2 separate regions of the Homo sapiens genome follow, and region 2 is linked to region 1. The links are contacts of gene promoters, found by promoter capture Hi-C in human tissues and cell types (Jung and others, 2019). All regions are on one chromosome and are shown on one strand. Each heading gives the region's core, a stretch centred on a gene start or on the middle of the fragment in contact. The rest is flanking DNA. Distances are from core to core; before and after follow the strand shown.

Region 1 (5,292 bases), core at 2,658-5,157:
TCAAACTCCTGACCTCAAGTGATCTACCCGTCTTGGCCTCCCAAAATGCTGGGATTGTAGGCTTGAGCCACCCCGCCCAGCCTGCTTCTGTGCTTTCCATCCTTTGAAGGCAGGGACTTGCTCTGATGTGGGCTCTTGTGATGGAGACACGTGGGGGCCTTGGCCAACCACATCCTTGCTCAGAGTCTCAGATTTCTCATCTGTAAAACAGGAAGAATAGAATTCAACTCTGAGGTCTGTGGGAATATTAAAGGCGACAATGACAACCATGGTCCTCTGTGCCCCCCTCCCCTGAGGTTCCCATGCCCGGAAGGGACATGCAGGATCTGACTGGAGTCACAGGGGCTGAGGCTGGGGCCACGCCTCAGTTTGTTTCCTGAACCTTCTACAATCCTCCTCCAAGAAAGAATTGCATGTCCTCCCCCATATCTCTCCTCCAAGTTTGCAAGGATGCCCATCTCCCCAGCTCCTATTCCCTCGCCCCAGCCCTCCCTCACCAACGTTTCCAGTGTTCCAGGGGTTTTCTTAGGAAGGAGCTGAGGTGTTAAATCCTTAGAGGTCGGCATGGCTTAGGTGATTATAGCTGAGCTTTACCTGCCCTTCTCAGGGGTTCCTCAAGTCTCTCAAAGCAACACATTTGCTCATGGTGGGGAATGGGTGGGAACGGCTGCCACAGGCATTTCCTCCAAGTTTCCCGTGTTGGTCCTCCTTCCTTTCACCATCTTTAGGTTCCTCCTACCGTACCTCCTACCCTGATCCCCAGTTTGGGCCAGGCCCTTCACGCATAGACACAGCTCCTGAGTCTACCTTATCACGCCCTGCTCCCCAGAACTCAGAGGGACAGCCTAGAGCCTTTGTTACAAGCACAGCCTGGCTCGCCTCTCCAAACCCCCATACTCACTGTGCAATGTTGGGCATATTCATTCATTTATTTGATGCATATTTATTGAATACTTATTGTGTAACAGTTACTGTTTTAGGGCTTGGGGATATATTATTAGTGAAGTAACTAAATAAAATCCATTGCCGTGGTGGAGCTTACATTCTGGTGGGGGAGAGAGACACAAAACACAACAAAGAAATGAAATATGTAGTGGAGATAAGTGCTAAGGAGAAAAGTTCAGCAGAAAAGGTGGTAGGGAACATGTGGTAGGGGATTAATTTTGCAGACACACTTGTTCAAGATCATCCAGAAAGCAGTGAAGTCAGAATTTGCACCTAAATCAAATCTATTTTGTCTTTAAAAGTGACTCCTGACAGCACAGACATGTCCCTAAATGAATGCAGTAAATGCGATGTGAGTTTTATTTCAGTAATAATTCATCTCAGGCTGGGCGTGGTGGCTCACGCCTGTAATCCAAACACTTTGGGTGGTCAAGGCAGGTGGATCACCTGAGGTCAGGGGTTCGAGACCCGCCTGGCCAACATGGCGAAACCCTGTCTCTACTAAAAATACAAAAATTAGCCAGGCATGATGGCGCATGCCTGTAATCCCAGCAACTCAGGAGGCTGAGGCAGGGGAATCGCTTGAACCCAGGAAGCAGAGGTTGCAGTGAGCTGAGATCGTGCCACTGCACTCTAGCCTGGGCGACAGAGTAAAACTCTGTCTCAAAAATAAATATAATAGGCTGGGCGCAGTGGTTCATACCTGTAATCCCAGCACTTTGGGAGGCTCAGGCGGGTGGATTACTTGAGGTCCAGAGTTCGAGACCAGCCTGGCCAACATGGTGAAACCCCGTCTCTACTAAAAATATGAAAAAATTAGCCGGGCGTGGTGGCAGGCGCCGGTAATCCCAGCTACTCGGGAGGGTGAGGGAGGAAAATCACTTGAACCCGGGAGGCAGAGGTTGTGGTGAGCTGAGATCGCGTCACTGCACTCCGGCCTGGGCGACAGAGAGAGACTCCGTCTCAAAAATAAAATAAAATAAAAAAATATATATAATTCATTTCAGTAGTAAAAGACATAAACAAAAAGCTATAAGTATACACTACGTTACAGCTTTTGTTGAGGAATGCAATAAACATACATATCACTTCCCTGTATAATCTCAATGGCCTTTGGGAGAGAATTTAGAAAAGCATCCCAGTCGCTGAATGGTTGAGTTTAGGGGAAAAACTGACCCAGCACAGCCCCCTCATCTCCTGGATGAGGTTACTGCGGTTCCGCAAGGTGAATCGAGGTCAGTCGCCAAGGCAGAACCGGATTCGCCAGATTCCCTAGTCTCAGTGGAGCTTTAACCCTCCCAGGCACAGGACCGCTGGAGAGGTCGCCACGGGCCGGTTTCCCAGCCGGCCGCGAGGGGGCGACAGAGTGCAATGGACCCAGGTGAGTCGGGGACCAGGCGCCGCCAGGTCGTGACGCCACAAGGTGAGGGAGGTCTTTGATGGAGGGAGATACAGGAGAAAAGGCGCCGAGCTTAGGAAGTCTGTTCGTACTGTCCTCCCCGATTCCAGTCTGGCTCCCACTGCTATCTTCCTCCCACTGCTGGACCCTTCTAAAACAAAAGCCTGACTTTGCTACCATCCGTAAAACTGTAACGACACCTCCAACGTTGCTTACAGGGAAAAAAAAAAAAAAGGGCAGCAAAACATGGGACCTGGGTGATCTTGCCCCAGCCTAATTCCAAGATATCTCCTGCAAATAGATATCTATTTGCAGATATCTGGGAGCCGTATTGAAATACTTCCAACTCCCTGGACTCATCCTACTTTTTTTTTTTTTTTTTTTTTTGAGACTGAGTCTCGCTATGCCGCCCAGGCTGGAGTGCAGTGACGCAATCTCGGCTCACTGCAACCTTCACCTCCCGGGTTCAAGCGATTCTTCTGCCTCAGCCTTCTAAGTAGCTGGCACTAAAGGCGCGCCCAGATAATTTTTTTTTTTTTTTTTTTTTAGTAGAGACGGGGTTTCACCGTGTTAGGATGGTTTCGATCTCCTGACCTCGTGATCCGCCCTCCTCGGCCTTCATCCTACTTTTTCTCCCTGAATATCTTTTCGCACCAGCTCTACGTGGAGAAATCCGACTGTCTTTGAGCGAAGTACAGTATCACTTTCTCTTGAAACCTCCCCTGACACGACCCCTCCCCTGACACGACCCCTCCCCTGACAACACCCCCACCCACCCCACCCCAGTTTGGGGGAGGAGCCCCCTCCTTTGTTCCCACTACCCCGTGGGCTTCCCCTATCACACTGTAATAAATATCTGGCCTTGTCTATCTCCTTCTGTGCCCATCACAGAGCAAAGCAAATACAAAGAGTTCATTAAACGTTGGCTGGATGAATGGAGGAGACGGCACAGGGTTCAAGCTCTGCTACTTGTGCGGCCTCAGGCCGACTAATTATCTGGTGGGTTTGTTGTAAGGAGTCAGAACTAAATGGATTAATTACAAATAGTGCTTAGGACAATGCCCAGAATACTGTAAGCACTCAAGAAACTGATTTATTTTCGTCATTTTCACAGCGGCCAAGGTACATGAGGATGTAGCTTATCGCCCTTTTAAGGGACTCTCCCACGTTCGACTCTAAGCGGAAGTACCCGCTCAGGGCTCCGGAAGTGGCCTCAGAGCCCCTCAGCAACATGCCCGCAGAGAATTCTTCCGGAGGCGGTCACAGACATCTCCGTGACGCAGAACGAGTTAGAGCGTCCCTTGGGGTTTCCATGGTGCTGCCCTTAGCCTGCAGTATCTCCACTTCCTCTCCCGCCTGAGCGCCGGGAACGGAAAAGCAGGCGGCCGGTCCCAGCTGCGACGTAGACGCCGCGTGGGGGTGGGGTTGGGCGAGTAGGTGACGCTCTAGGCGAGCTCGTTGGCCTCTCTATGGTGCCGAGCGCGCCCGTTCGGACGTTGCCCCTTTAATCGGCAGAGGGCGGTGCCCAGGAGGTCCCGCGAGAGCTGCGGGGGGCGGGGGGGCGGTGCCGAGGCTGGGGGCCGGTGGCGGATGGAGCCCGCGATGGAGCCGGAGACTCTGGAGGCGCGAATCAGTGAGTGTCCGGGAGGGGCGCGGGCCGGACCGGAACCGGAACCGGGGGCACGAGGCGGGCCCCTTCCCGGCGGGGGCGGGGTACGGGTCGCCCCCTCCTCACGCCCCGCCCCCGGCCCGGGAGGGGCGGTGTCCTCAGTCGGCCCCTCAGACCCTGGAGCGATGGAGGACCCCGGCCCCGGCGCGGTCCAGCGGTGGGAGCGGGCGCCGCCCACCTGTCGGATCCCTGGGCCATGACCCCTGGGACGGCGAGTGAGCTGCGCCGGGAACCCCCGGGACGGAGAGAGCAGCCTCCAACCCCCAAGGCTCACATTGCTTCACGGAGTAGCGGCCCGGGGAAGGAGCACGCGAGCGGTTCCCCGGGGTTGCATCTCACACCCGGGAGGGAGGGACCCTACTATTTTCAGGCCCCGAATCCTCCACTCTCTGGCCCTGCATGGCGTTCCTGGAGCCCGCAAGTAGTCACATTTGCTCATTACCCCGTCCTGGAAGGGAGGACCCACTGCCCCATTTGATTCCTCCCGCCGCTCCTAGTCTCTAGCCACATAGTGAGAAACCCCCGCACCCTACAGGCTTGGGAGAGTCTTAGACTCCAGAAGTATTAATAATTCCAAGCTCCCTGTCACTCCCTTCAGCCTAACCCCTCAGTCTCCAAGATGCCTTTCCCAGCTCTTGCTGAACTTCCTTCAAAGGCTTCTACACCCCTTTTTTTCTTGTTTCTCCTCAGACGTAGCTTCCTATTGCTTAGGCTTCCTAGCCCGCAAACCCTCCACCTGAGCTCCTTAACCCACAGCCCTGATGATCCCCTGCTCTCACAGCCCCGCTCCTGGACTCTGCCTCTGAAAGCCGTGGCTGGCTTCTCCCTGGTCTAGTGAGGGTTCTCTCCCAAGGCTTTAACTGCTGTTGGGACCCCGTCGTTGCCAGGGCCTCAGGGAACCCTCTTGGACCCGGGCACACCGGCAACTGTCTAGCGTGGTTTGGGGTCATGGCCGGCCCCTTTTAAGCCAGGCTTGAGCAGAGTTGAACCATGAGGTTGGCCCCAGAACCAAACCTCTAGGGATGTTTCAGAGTCATCCTAGCCACCAGAGGGGCAGGGGGTGGAAAAGGGGCACTCAGCAGCCCTTGACCGTTGTGAACGCCGGAAGTGTCCGCCTGGGTCTCAGCAGCAACTGGGCTGGGGGGATGGGTGGGCCCCTGGCTAACTGATCTCAGACACAGGTCTTGAGCTGTGGGTCATACAAAACATTCTCAGGTTTAGAAACAGTGGGGGTTTTCTGAGAGTCCAGAGAGTCTAAAACCAGGCAGAAGTTAGAGAT
Region 2 (5,402 bases), core at 2,859-5,358, 1.2 Mb before region 1:
ATTTTGTTTCCAAGAGGCACATCACTGGCCAGGGGTCAGCAACAATCTCCCTGCATTGATCAAGCGGTCATTACAGTGGACTCTGATCATGGGCTTCAAAAGGAGAGGGACCTGCTCATGGTGATTTTTCACTTACAGCCTTCACAGAAGGCATCTGAGGACGAGCCGCAGCCAGGAGGTAGACAGGCTGCCTGTGGAATGCCAGAGCCACCACTTAACTAACAGCAAACTTTGCAGCTTGACTTGGGCCCCAAGCCTCAGTTTCTCCACCTGTAAAATGGAGCTGATCCCAGCTACCCCCATGGACAGCTACAAGGAGCCCCAGTGGGTCTAGCTGACAGCCCCCACCCCCACCCCCACCAGCCCCTACTTCTGCATTGGATCGGAGTATCGTCTAACTCACAGTGCCACTGTGATGACAAAATAAGCTCCCAGAGCTGGGCTCGGGGCAGCCCCGAACACCAGCCCCTCCCCCATGATCTTTGCCTCCTCTCAAGACAGCCTGTGTCACCACTGAGCTCATAATGAGTCAGTCACAGACGCTGCCCTCACACAGCCCACTTCGAGGGTTTGAAGTCACATCCTGCCTAACCCAACTCGACATGATTTATTCCACCCCAGGAAGGTAGCTCATTTCCCAGAATTTTGTTAAGCCCTTTAGTAAAGGAGTCTGATCTGGCAAGGGGCTCCCTTTACAGCCCTGGCTGAACATGCAGCTCAGCTCGGGCCTGGAGGCAGGAACCACCCTAAGTCAGGGCTGCCAGAGGCGCCAGGGCATCTCATCCTTGGGGCCCCAACATTTATCTTAAGCTGTAATTTTTATTTTTTTATTTTATTTTTTTTTGAGACAGAGTCTCACCGTCGCCCAGGCTGGAGTGCAGTGGCACAATCTTGGCTCGCTGCAACCTCCTGGGTTCAAGCAATTCTCCTGCCTCAGCCTCCCAAGTAGCTGGCATTACAGGCATGCACCACCGTACCCAGCTAAATTTTGTATTTTTAGCAGAGACGGAGTTTCACCATGTTGACCAGGCTAGTCTCAAACCCCTGACCTCAAGTGATTTGCCCACCTCAGCCTTCCAAAGTGCTGGGATTACAGGCATGAGCCACCGCACCCGGCCTTTTTTTAAATTTTAATTTAAAAACTTTTTGTCATAAATACAAACATGTCTAACAAAACTGTCACAATGTGACATACACATGCTATTCACTCTGATTCTTTTCCATTCAAGTCTATTTTATTTCATTTCTAAACACACTGGTTGCCCGCCAGGCATGGTGGCTCACGCCTATAATCCAGGCGCTTTGGGAGGCTGAGGCGGACAGATCACCTGAGGTCAGGAGTTCAAGACAGCCTGGCCAACATGGCAAAACCCCGTTTCTACTAAAAATACAAAAATTAGCCAGGCACGGTGGTGGGCACCTGCAATCCCAGCTATTCGGGAGGCTGAGGCAAAAGAATCACTTGAACCTGGGAGGCAGAATTTGCAGTGAGCCAAGATCCTGCCACTGCACTCCAGCCTGGGTGACAGAGCGAGACTCCATCTCAAAAATAAATAAATAAATAAACAAACAAACTGGTTGCCACTCACTTCACGACCCACCGATGAATCTCACTTGAAAGTTCTTGAAAAACACCACCGTGACTTATCTACGCTAGGAAGGAGAGGAACGATCTGCCTAAGATCACATAGCCAGGCCAAGCAGAAACTCAAGTCCAAAGCCAAAGGGAAACTCAGTGAGAGGTGGGGGGTCGGGGGGAGTGTCCCACTCCAGGCAAGTGAGACTCAGCTGTAGCAACCCAATCACCTGACACATTCATCTCGTGGTGTTTACATCATCTGATCCCGCCAGCCTTGGCAAAGTGAAGGGTCACGCGGCCCCTCCCCCTAAAAAAGGAGAGAGCCTCAGAGGCTCAGGGAGGCTAAGTGACTTGCCTAGGTACAGGGTTTCCCGGGAACATCCCTGCCGATGTGCAGGGGCAAGAGCACAAGAACGAAAGAGGAGCCCACCTTCCTCAGCATCCAAGGTAACAAGAGATCAAGTCTGGCATCAGAAACATCACCCCTCCCATCTCCAGGCCCAGCCCCACACTGAAGAGATACCCAGAAGTGACGGTGTTCTAAAGGCTTAAATACAAGAAGGATCATCAGGGAGGGGAAGGCCACTGTGCTGGAGCTACAGTGATGAGCCCCAGGAAAGTGATCACCCCTGGGGTGGCACAACTTAGACTAGAACAAACCCCCATCCTGATCCTAACGGCCCCCAGGCTGCATCCGTTATGCGACACTCACGTGTGCACACTCTACAAATGGAAAACCCAAAGCTTCTATTTGTCTAGGTCAGTGGTCAAGGACCCCTTTGAGAACTTGTGAGAGGTGGTGAACGCCTTGCATACCACGTTAGGGGGCTCGCAGAGACTCTGCAGTGCGGTCCATGGACTTTTAGGAGTCCCCTGGTCACAAGCTCAAAGGTAATGGGGCACTAGTGCGGCCTCCTTTTCTACCAAGGCAACATGAACAAAGACTTGAGGCAGGATCTCTTCCTTCGTCACCCTCCGGAGGGTTAAGCAGGATCTCGCTGAGGAAGCAAAGCTGTGGACAGAATAACCCAATAGCAAGAGTCCACGTGGCACGGGAGGGAGGCCGATTCTCCTGCACTGCTCTGGGGTGCCCTGGACTCCAGGAACAAGAAGCCCAAAACTGAAGGGTGAACGGTCTCTCCTCCCGACATTTCCATCCCTTGCTCCGGTTCTCAAATGAGCAAGCACACAGCCAGCCCTGGACATATAGAAGGCATGGCAGGCAATGCCAAGCTTTCCAGAGAAGCATCCCAGAGCCTCCTGCATTCCCCGGGGGAAATGATCAAATACAAGTGAGGATGAAATCCACTTATTTTGCACTTTACAGAAAAATTAACTTACCGCTCCTAGACTGGGTTGCGGCAGCACCCTTGTCTGAAAGGCTGGCCAACCCCAGTGTCCTTGAGCAGGCAGCCTGGCCGGCAGGATGACCTTACCAAGTCCTTCCCCAGAAACGTGACTACCGCTTACTTTACCACTCACCAAGCAGCACTCCTTTGCCCAGGCCACAGTCTGGTTTGAAAGTGGCCAAAGCTGTGGCTGCACATGAAAGAAGGAAGCAGCAGCGGCCCCTGCTCTAGAGAGCTGCCAGATTTGGGCCAATGCCATCCTGCCCTGGACAGAGCCCCAGGCCCCCTCCTCCCCTCCCCAGTCCAAGATGGGTGCATACAGACTTGCACACACACAGATATGCATGCACACAGACACGTGCAAAGATCTGTGCACACAGAGGTGCAGAGACATGCACACAGAGACCTGTGCAAACAGACATGCACATATACAAACACACACACACACATGCCTGCATACAGACACCCCAGAGGATGCTGGGATATGGCCGAAGTCAGGCCAACCTGGAGGTAAGCGCTGGATTCTCCTCACTGGTTCAGGAAATCCGGCAAATTATTTAAATGTCCTGAACCTCCCTTTCTTCATCTGTACAATGGGAATGAAAAGGCCCACCTCCCAGGACCCTGTTGGTAATTAAATAACGGCCACTTGCACTTTATTCTGAGTGCTTTTCACCAGGAATCTCACTTTAGCACACAGCACTCTTGTGAGGTAGATTCTAGTGGTATCCCGTTTTGCAGATGGGGAAACAAGGCCAGAAGGCTTACTTGCTGAAGGACACACAGGCACTAGCTGCCGGTGTCTGTACCCTGCAGGTCTCACTTGGGGCTCCAGGTCTTCCATCCCTAACCACTCTGCTCCACTGCCTCTAGGGGTGCAATGAGACAGCGAATGCACACAGAGCATCTGGCAAGGCGTCACATAGGACCTGGTCAACAGCAGTTGCTCCGTGATCAGGAAGGAGAAGCGCAGAGGTGGACCCGCAAGCTTTCCAGTAGCCCAGGGCCAAAGCACCAGTATCTGTCCTCCTGTCTGCTACCAATCCCCTCCAGCAGACTCACTTTTAACCCAATTTCTCTAAGATAACAGTGCTGGGAGGTGGAGGAGTGTTATCTCCCCACCCTTACCCCTCCCAGCTGTCTATATCGCCCTAAACAGCCAGGAATTTAATAAGCCTGGAGTTGTCTCTGACTCCCAACCACAACCAATTCGGAATGCCCCAGGTCCTGCAGCACAACAAAGGCTGCCCTGCAAAGCCCGGAAGAGCCTGCGAAGCCTGCCCCGTCCGCGATAGAGCATCACATTCTTCAGATTCTTGTGTAAAAGCCAGAAGTAAGGCAAGGGGGTGGGGGTGGGGGGGCTCTAATTTCAACCTAAGGGTCATTAAAGCCTGTGACCTGTATTAAAAGGGAAGAGACCCACCCCTCTGCAGCCCCTCTGTACCACGCTGGTCCTCCAAGGTGTATGATACTGCACAGGTCAGCACACCCAGGCCTCACAACCAGAAAGCGCCCTCAGCCTAGCGTCCCCACTTTGAGGACATCAAGCCTCCAGGACACACAGCTAGTCAATGGCAGGAGGGATTTTGCCAGACTGATCTTCAGCATCGTACTGGTGGCCACTATCTATTTCTTTCTGTCTAACATAGGTTTAAAGTTCTAGCCAGAGAGTCCACAGAACTAACCCCAGGTAGAGTTCAGGGGAAGACGTTGAGGTGCTGATGGAGACTCGTGAATTCCACAGTGCTCGGCAGCAAGTAATTAATCTCATGATGAGGCGTTTTTCATGAGCATTTGGCATTATATACCCACCTCCCCCTCGCCCTGGCAAAGGCAGGAAACAGTGGGCGGCAGGCCGGCTCTGGGCAGAAGGCGGGCTGAGAACAGCATGCTGGTGGGCTAGGAAGGTACGAGGGGGCGGTATCCATTCTTCAGAGGGAGGACAGCAAAAACCCAGGTTCCCCACAAGGACCAGGCTAACCAGACCTCACACCAGCCTGCCAGCCTTCACCTGCTGTCTACCCGACAGGTCTCTTAGGATGGAACAGGGAGGGCTGTAATTTACAGCTGGTGCCATAAAGCCAACTAGGTAACGCGACCCAGCAACCACCACTGTGAGGCTATGTGTGGAAGTCTACAAAAACCCAATTTCACAACTATTGTCCACATAGTGGTTGAAGTGGGATGAGAAGGCAGGAGAGGCGATGGAAGTAGATATGGAAAATAACTGGCCTGAAAATGAGGAGCTGGGAGAGGATTTTAGATCATTCACTTGCTACCTGGGGCTAGTCACGTAGGTTTTCTTGGACTCTCAACATTCCCAGCTACAAAATAGGAACACTAATACTGCCACCTTCATGGGATTGAGAGACTTTTGTTGCAATAACTTGAAAGTGACTTTAACCTTTGTAACGTGATATAAAAAATAGACTGAAATTTTTAAACAGATAAAAATATATCACCTGGCACTGTGC

The links. The method cuts DNA at HindIII sites, captures the fragments that hold promoters and counts their contacts. A contact is called where the count stands out against the background at its distance.
Region 2: a contact is called between a fragment that was not itself captured here and the fragment with the promoter of GGA1 in region 1, in 1 of the 25 tissues and cell types used here (spleen).

The regions. Positions count from the first base shown.
Region 1 is chr22:37,604,927-37,610,218 of GRCh38, forward strand. It overlaps GGA1 (golgi associated, gamma adaptin ear containing, ARF binding protein 1), which reads left to right and starts at 3,908. Exons shown (of 17, transcript NM_013365.5): 1 at 3,908-3,977. The coding sequence starts at 3,935. RefSeq lists a cis regulatory region at 2,084-2,543, enhancers at 3,288-3,367, 3,518-3,687, 4,292-4,913, 4,628-4,737 and a silencer at 3,848-4,297. The HindIII fragment of the contact is 29,756 bases long and covers 1-5,292 here.
Region 2 is chr22:36,364,643-36,370,044 of GRCh38, forward strand. The region is part of intron 1 of MYH9 (myosin heavy chain 9); the gene reads right to left. Among named protein-coding and RNA genes, the nearest start is that of MYH9, 21 kb to the right of the region's middle. RefSeq lists enhancers at 443-532, 543-642, 4,629-4,718 and a silencer at 4,022-4,316. The HindIII fragment of the contact is 6,874 bases long and covers 672-5,402 here.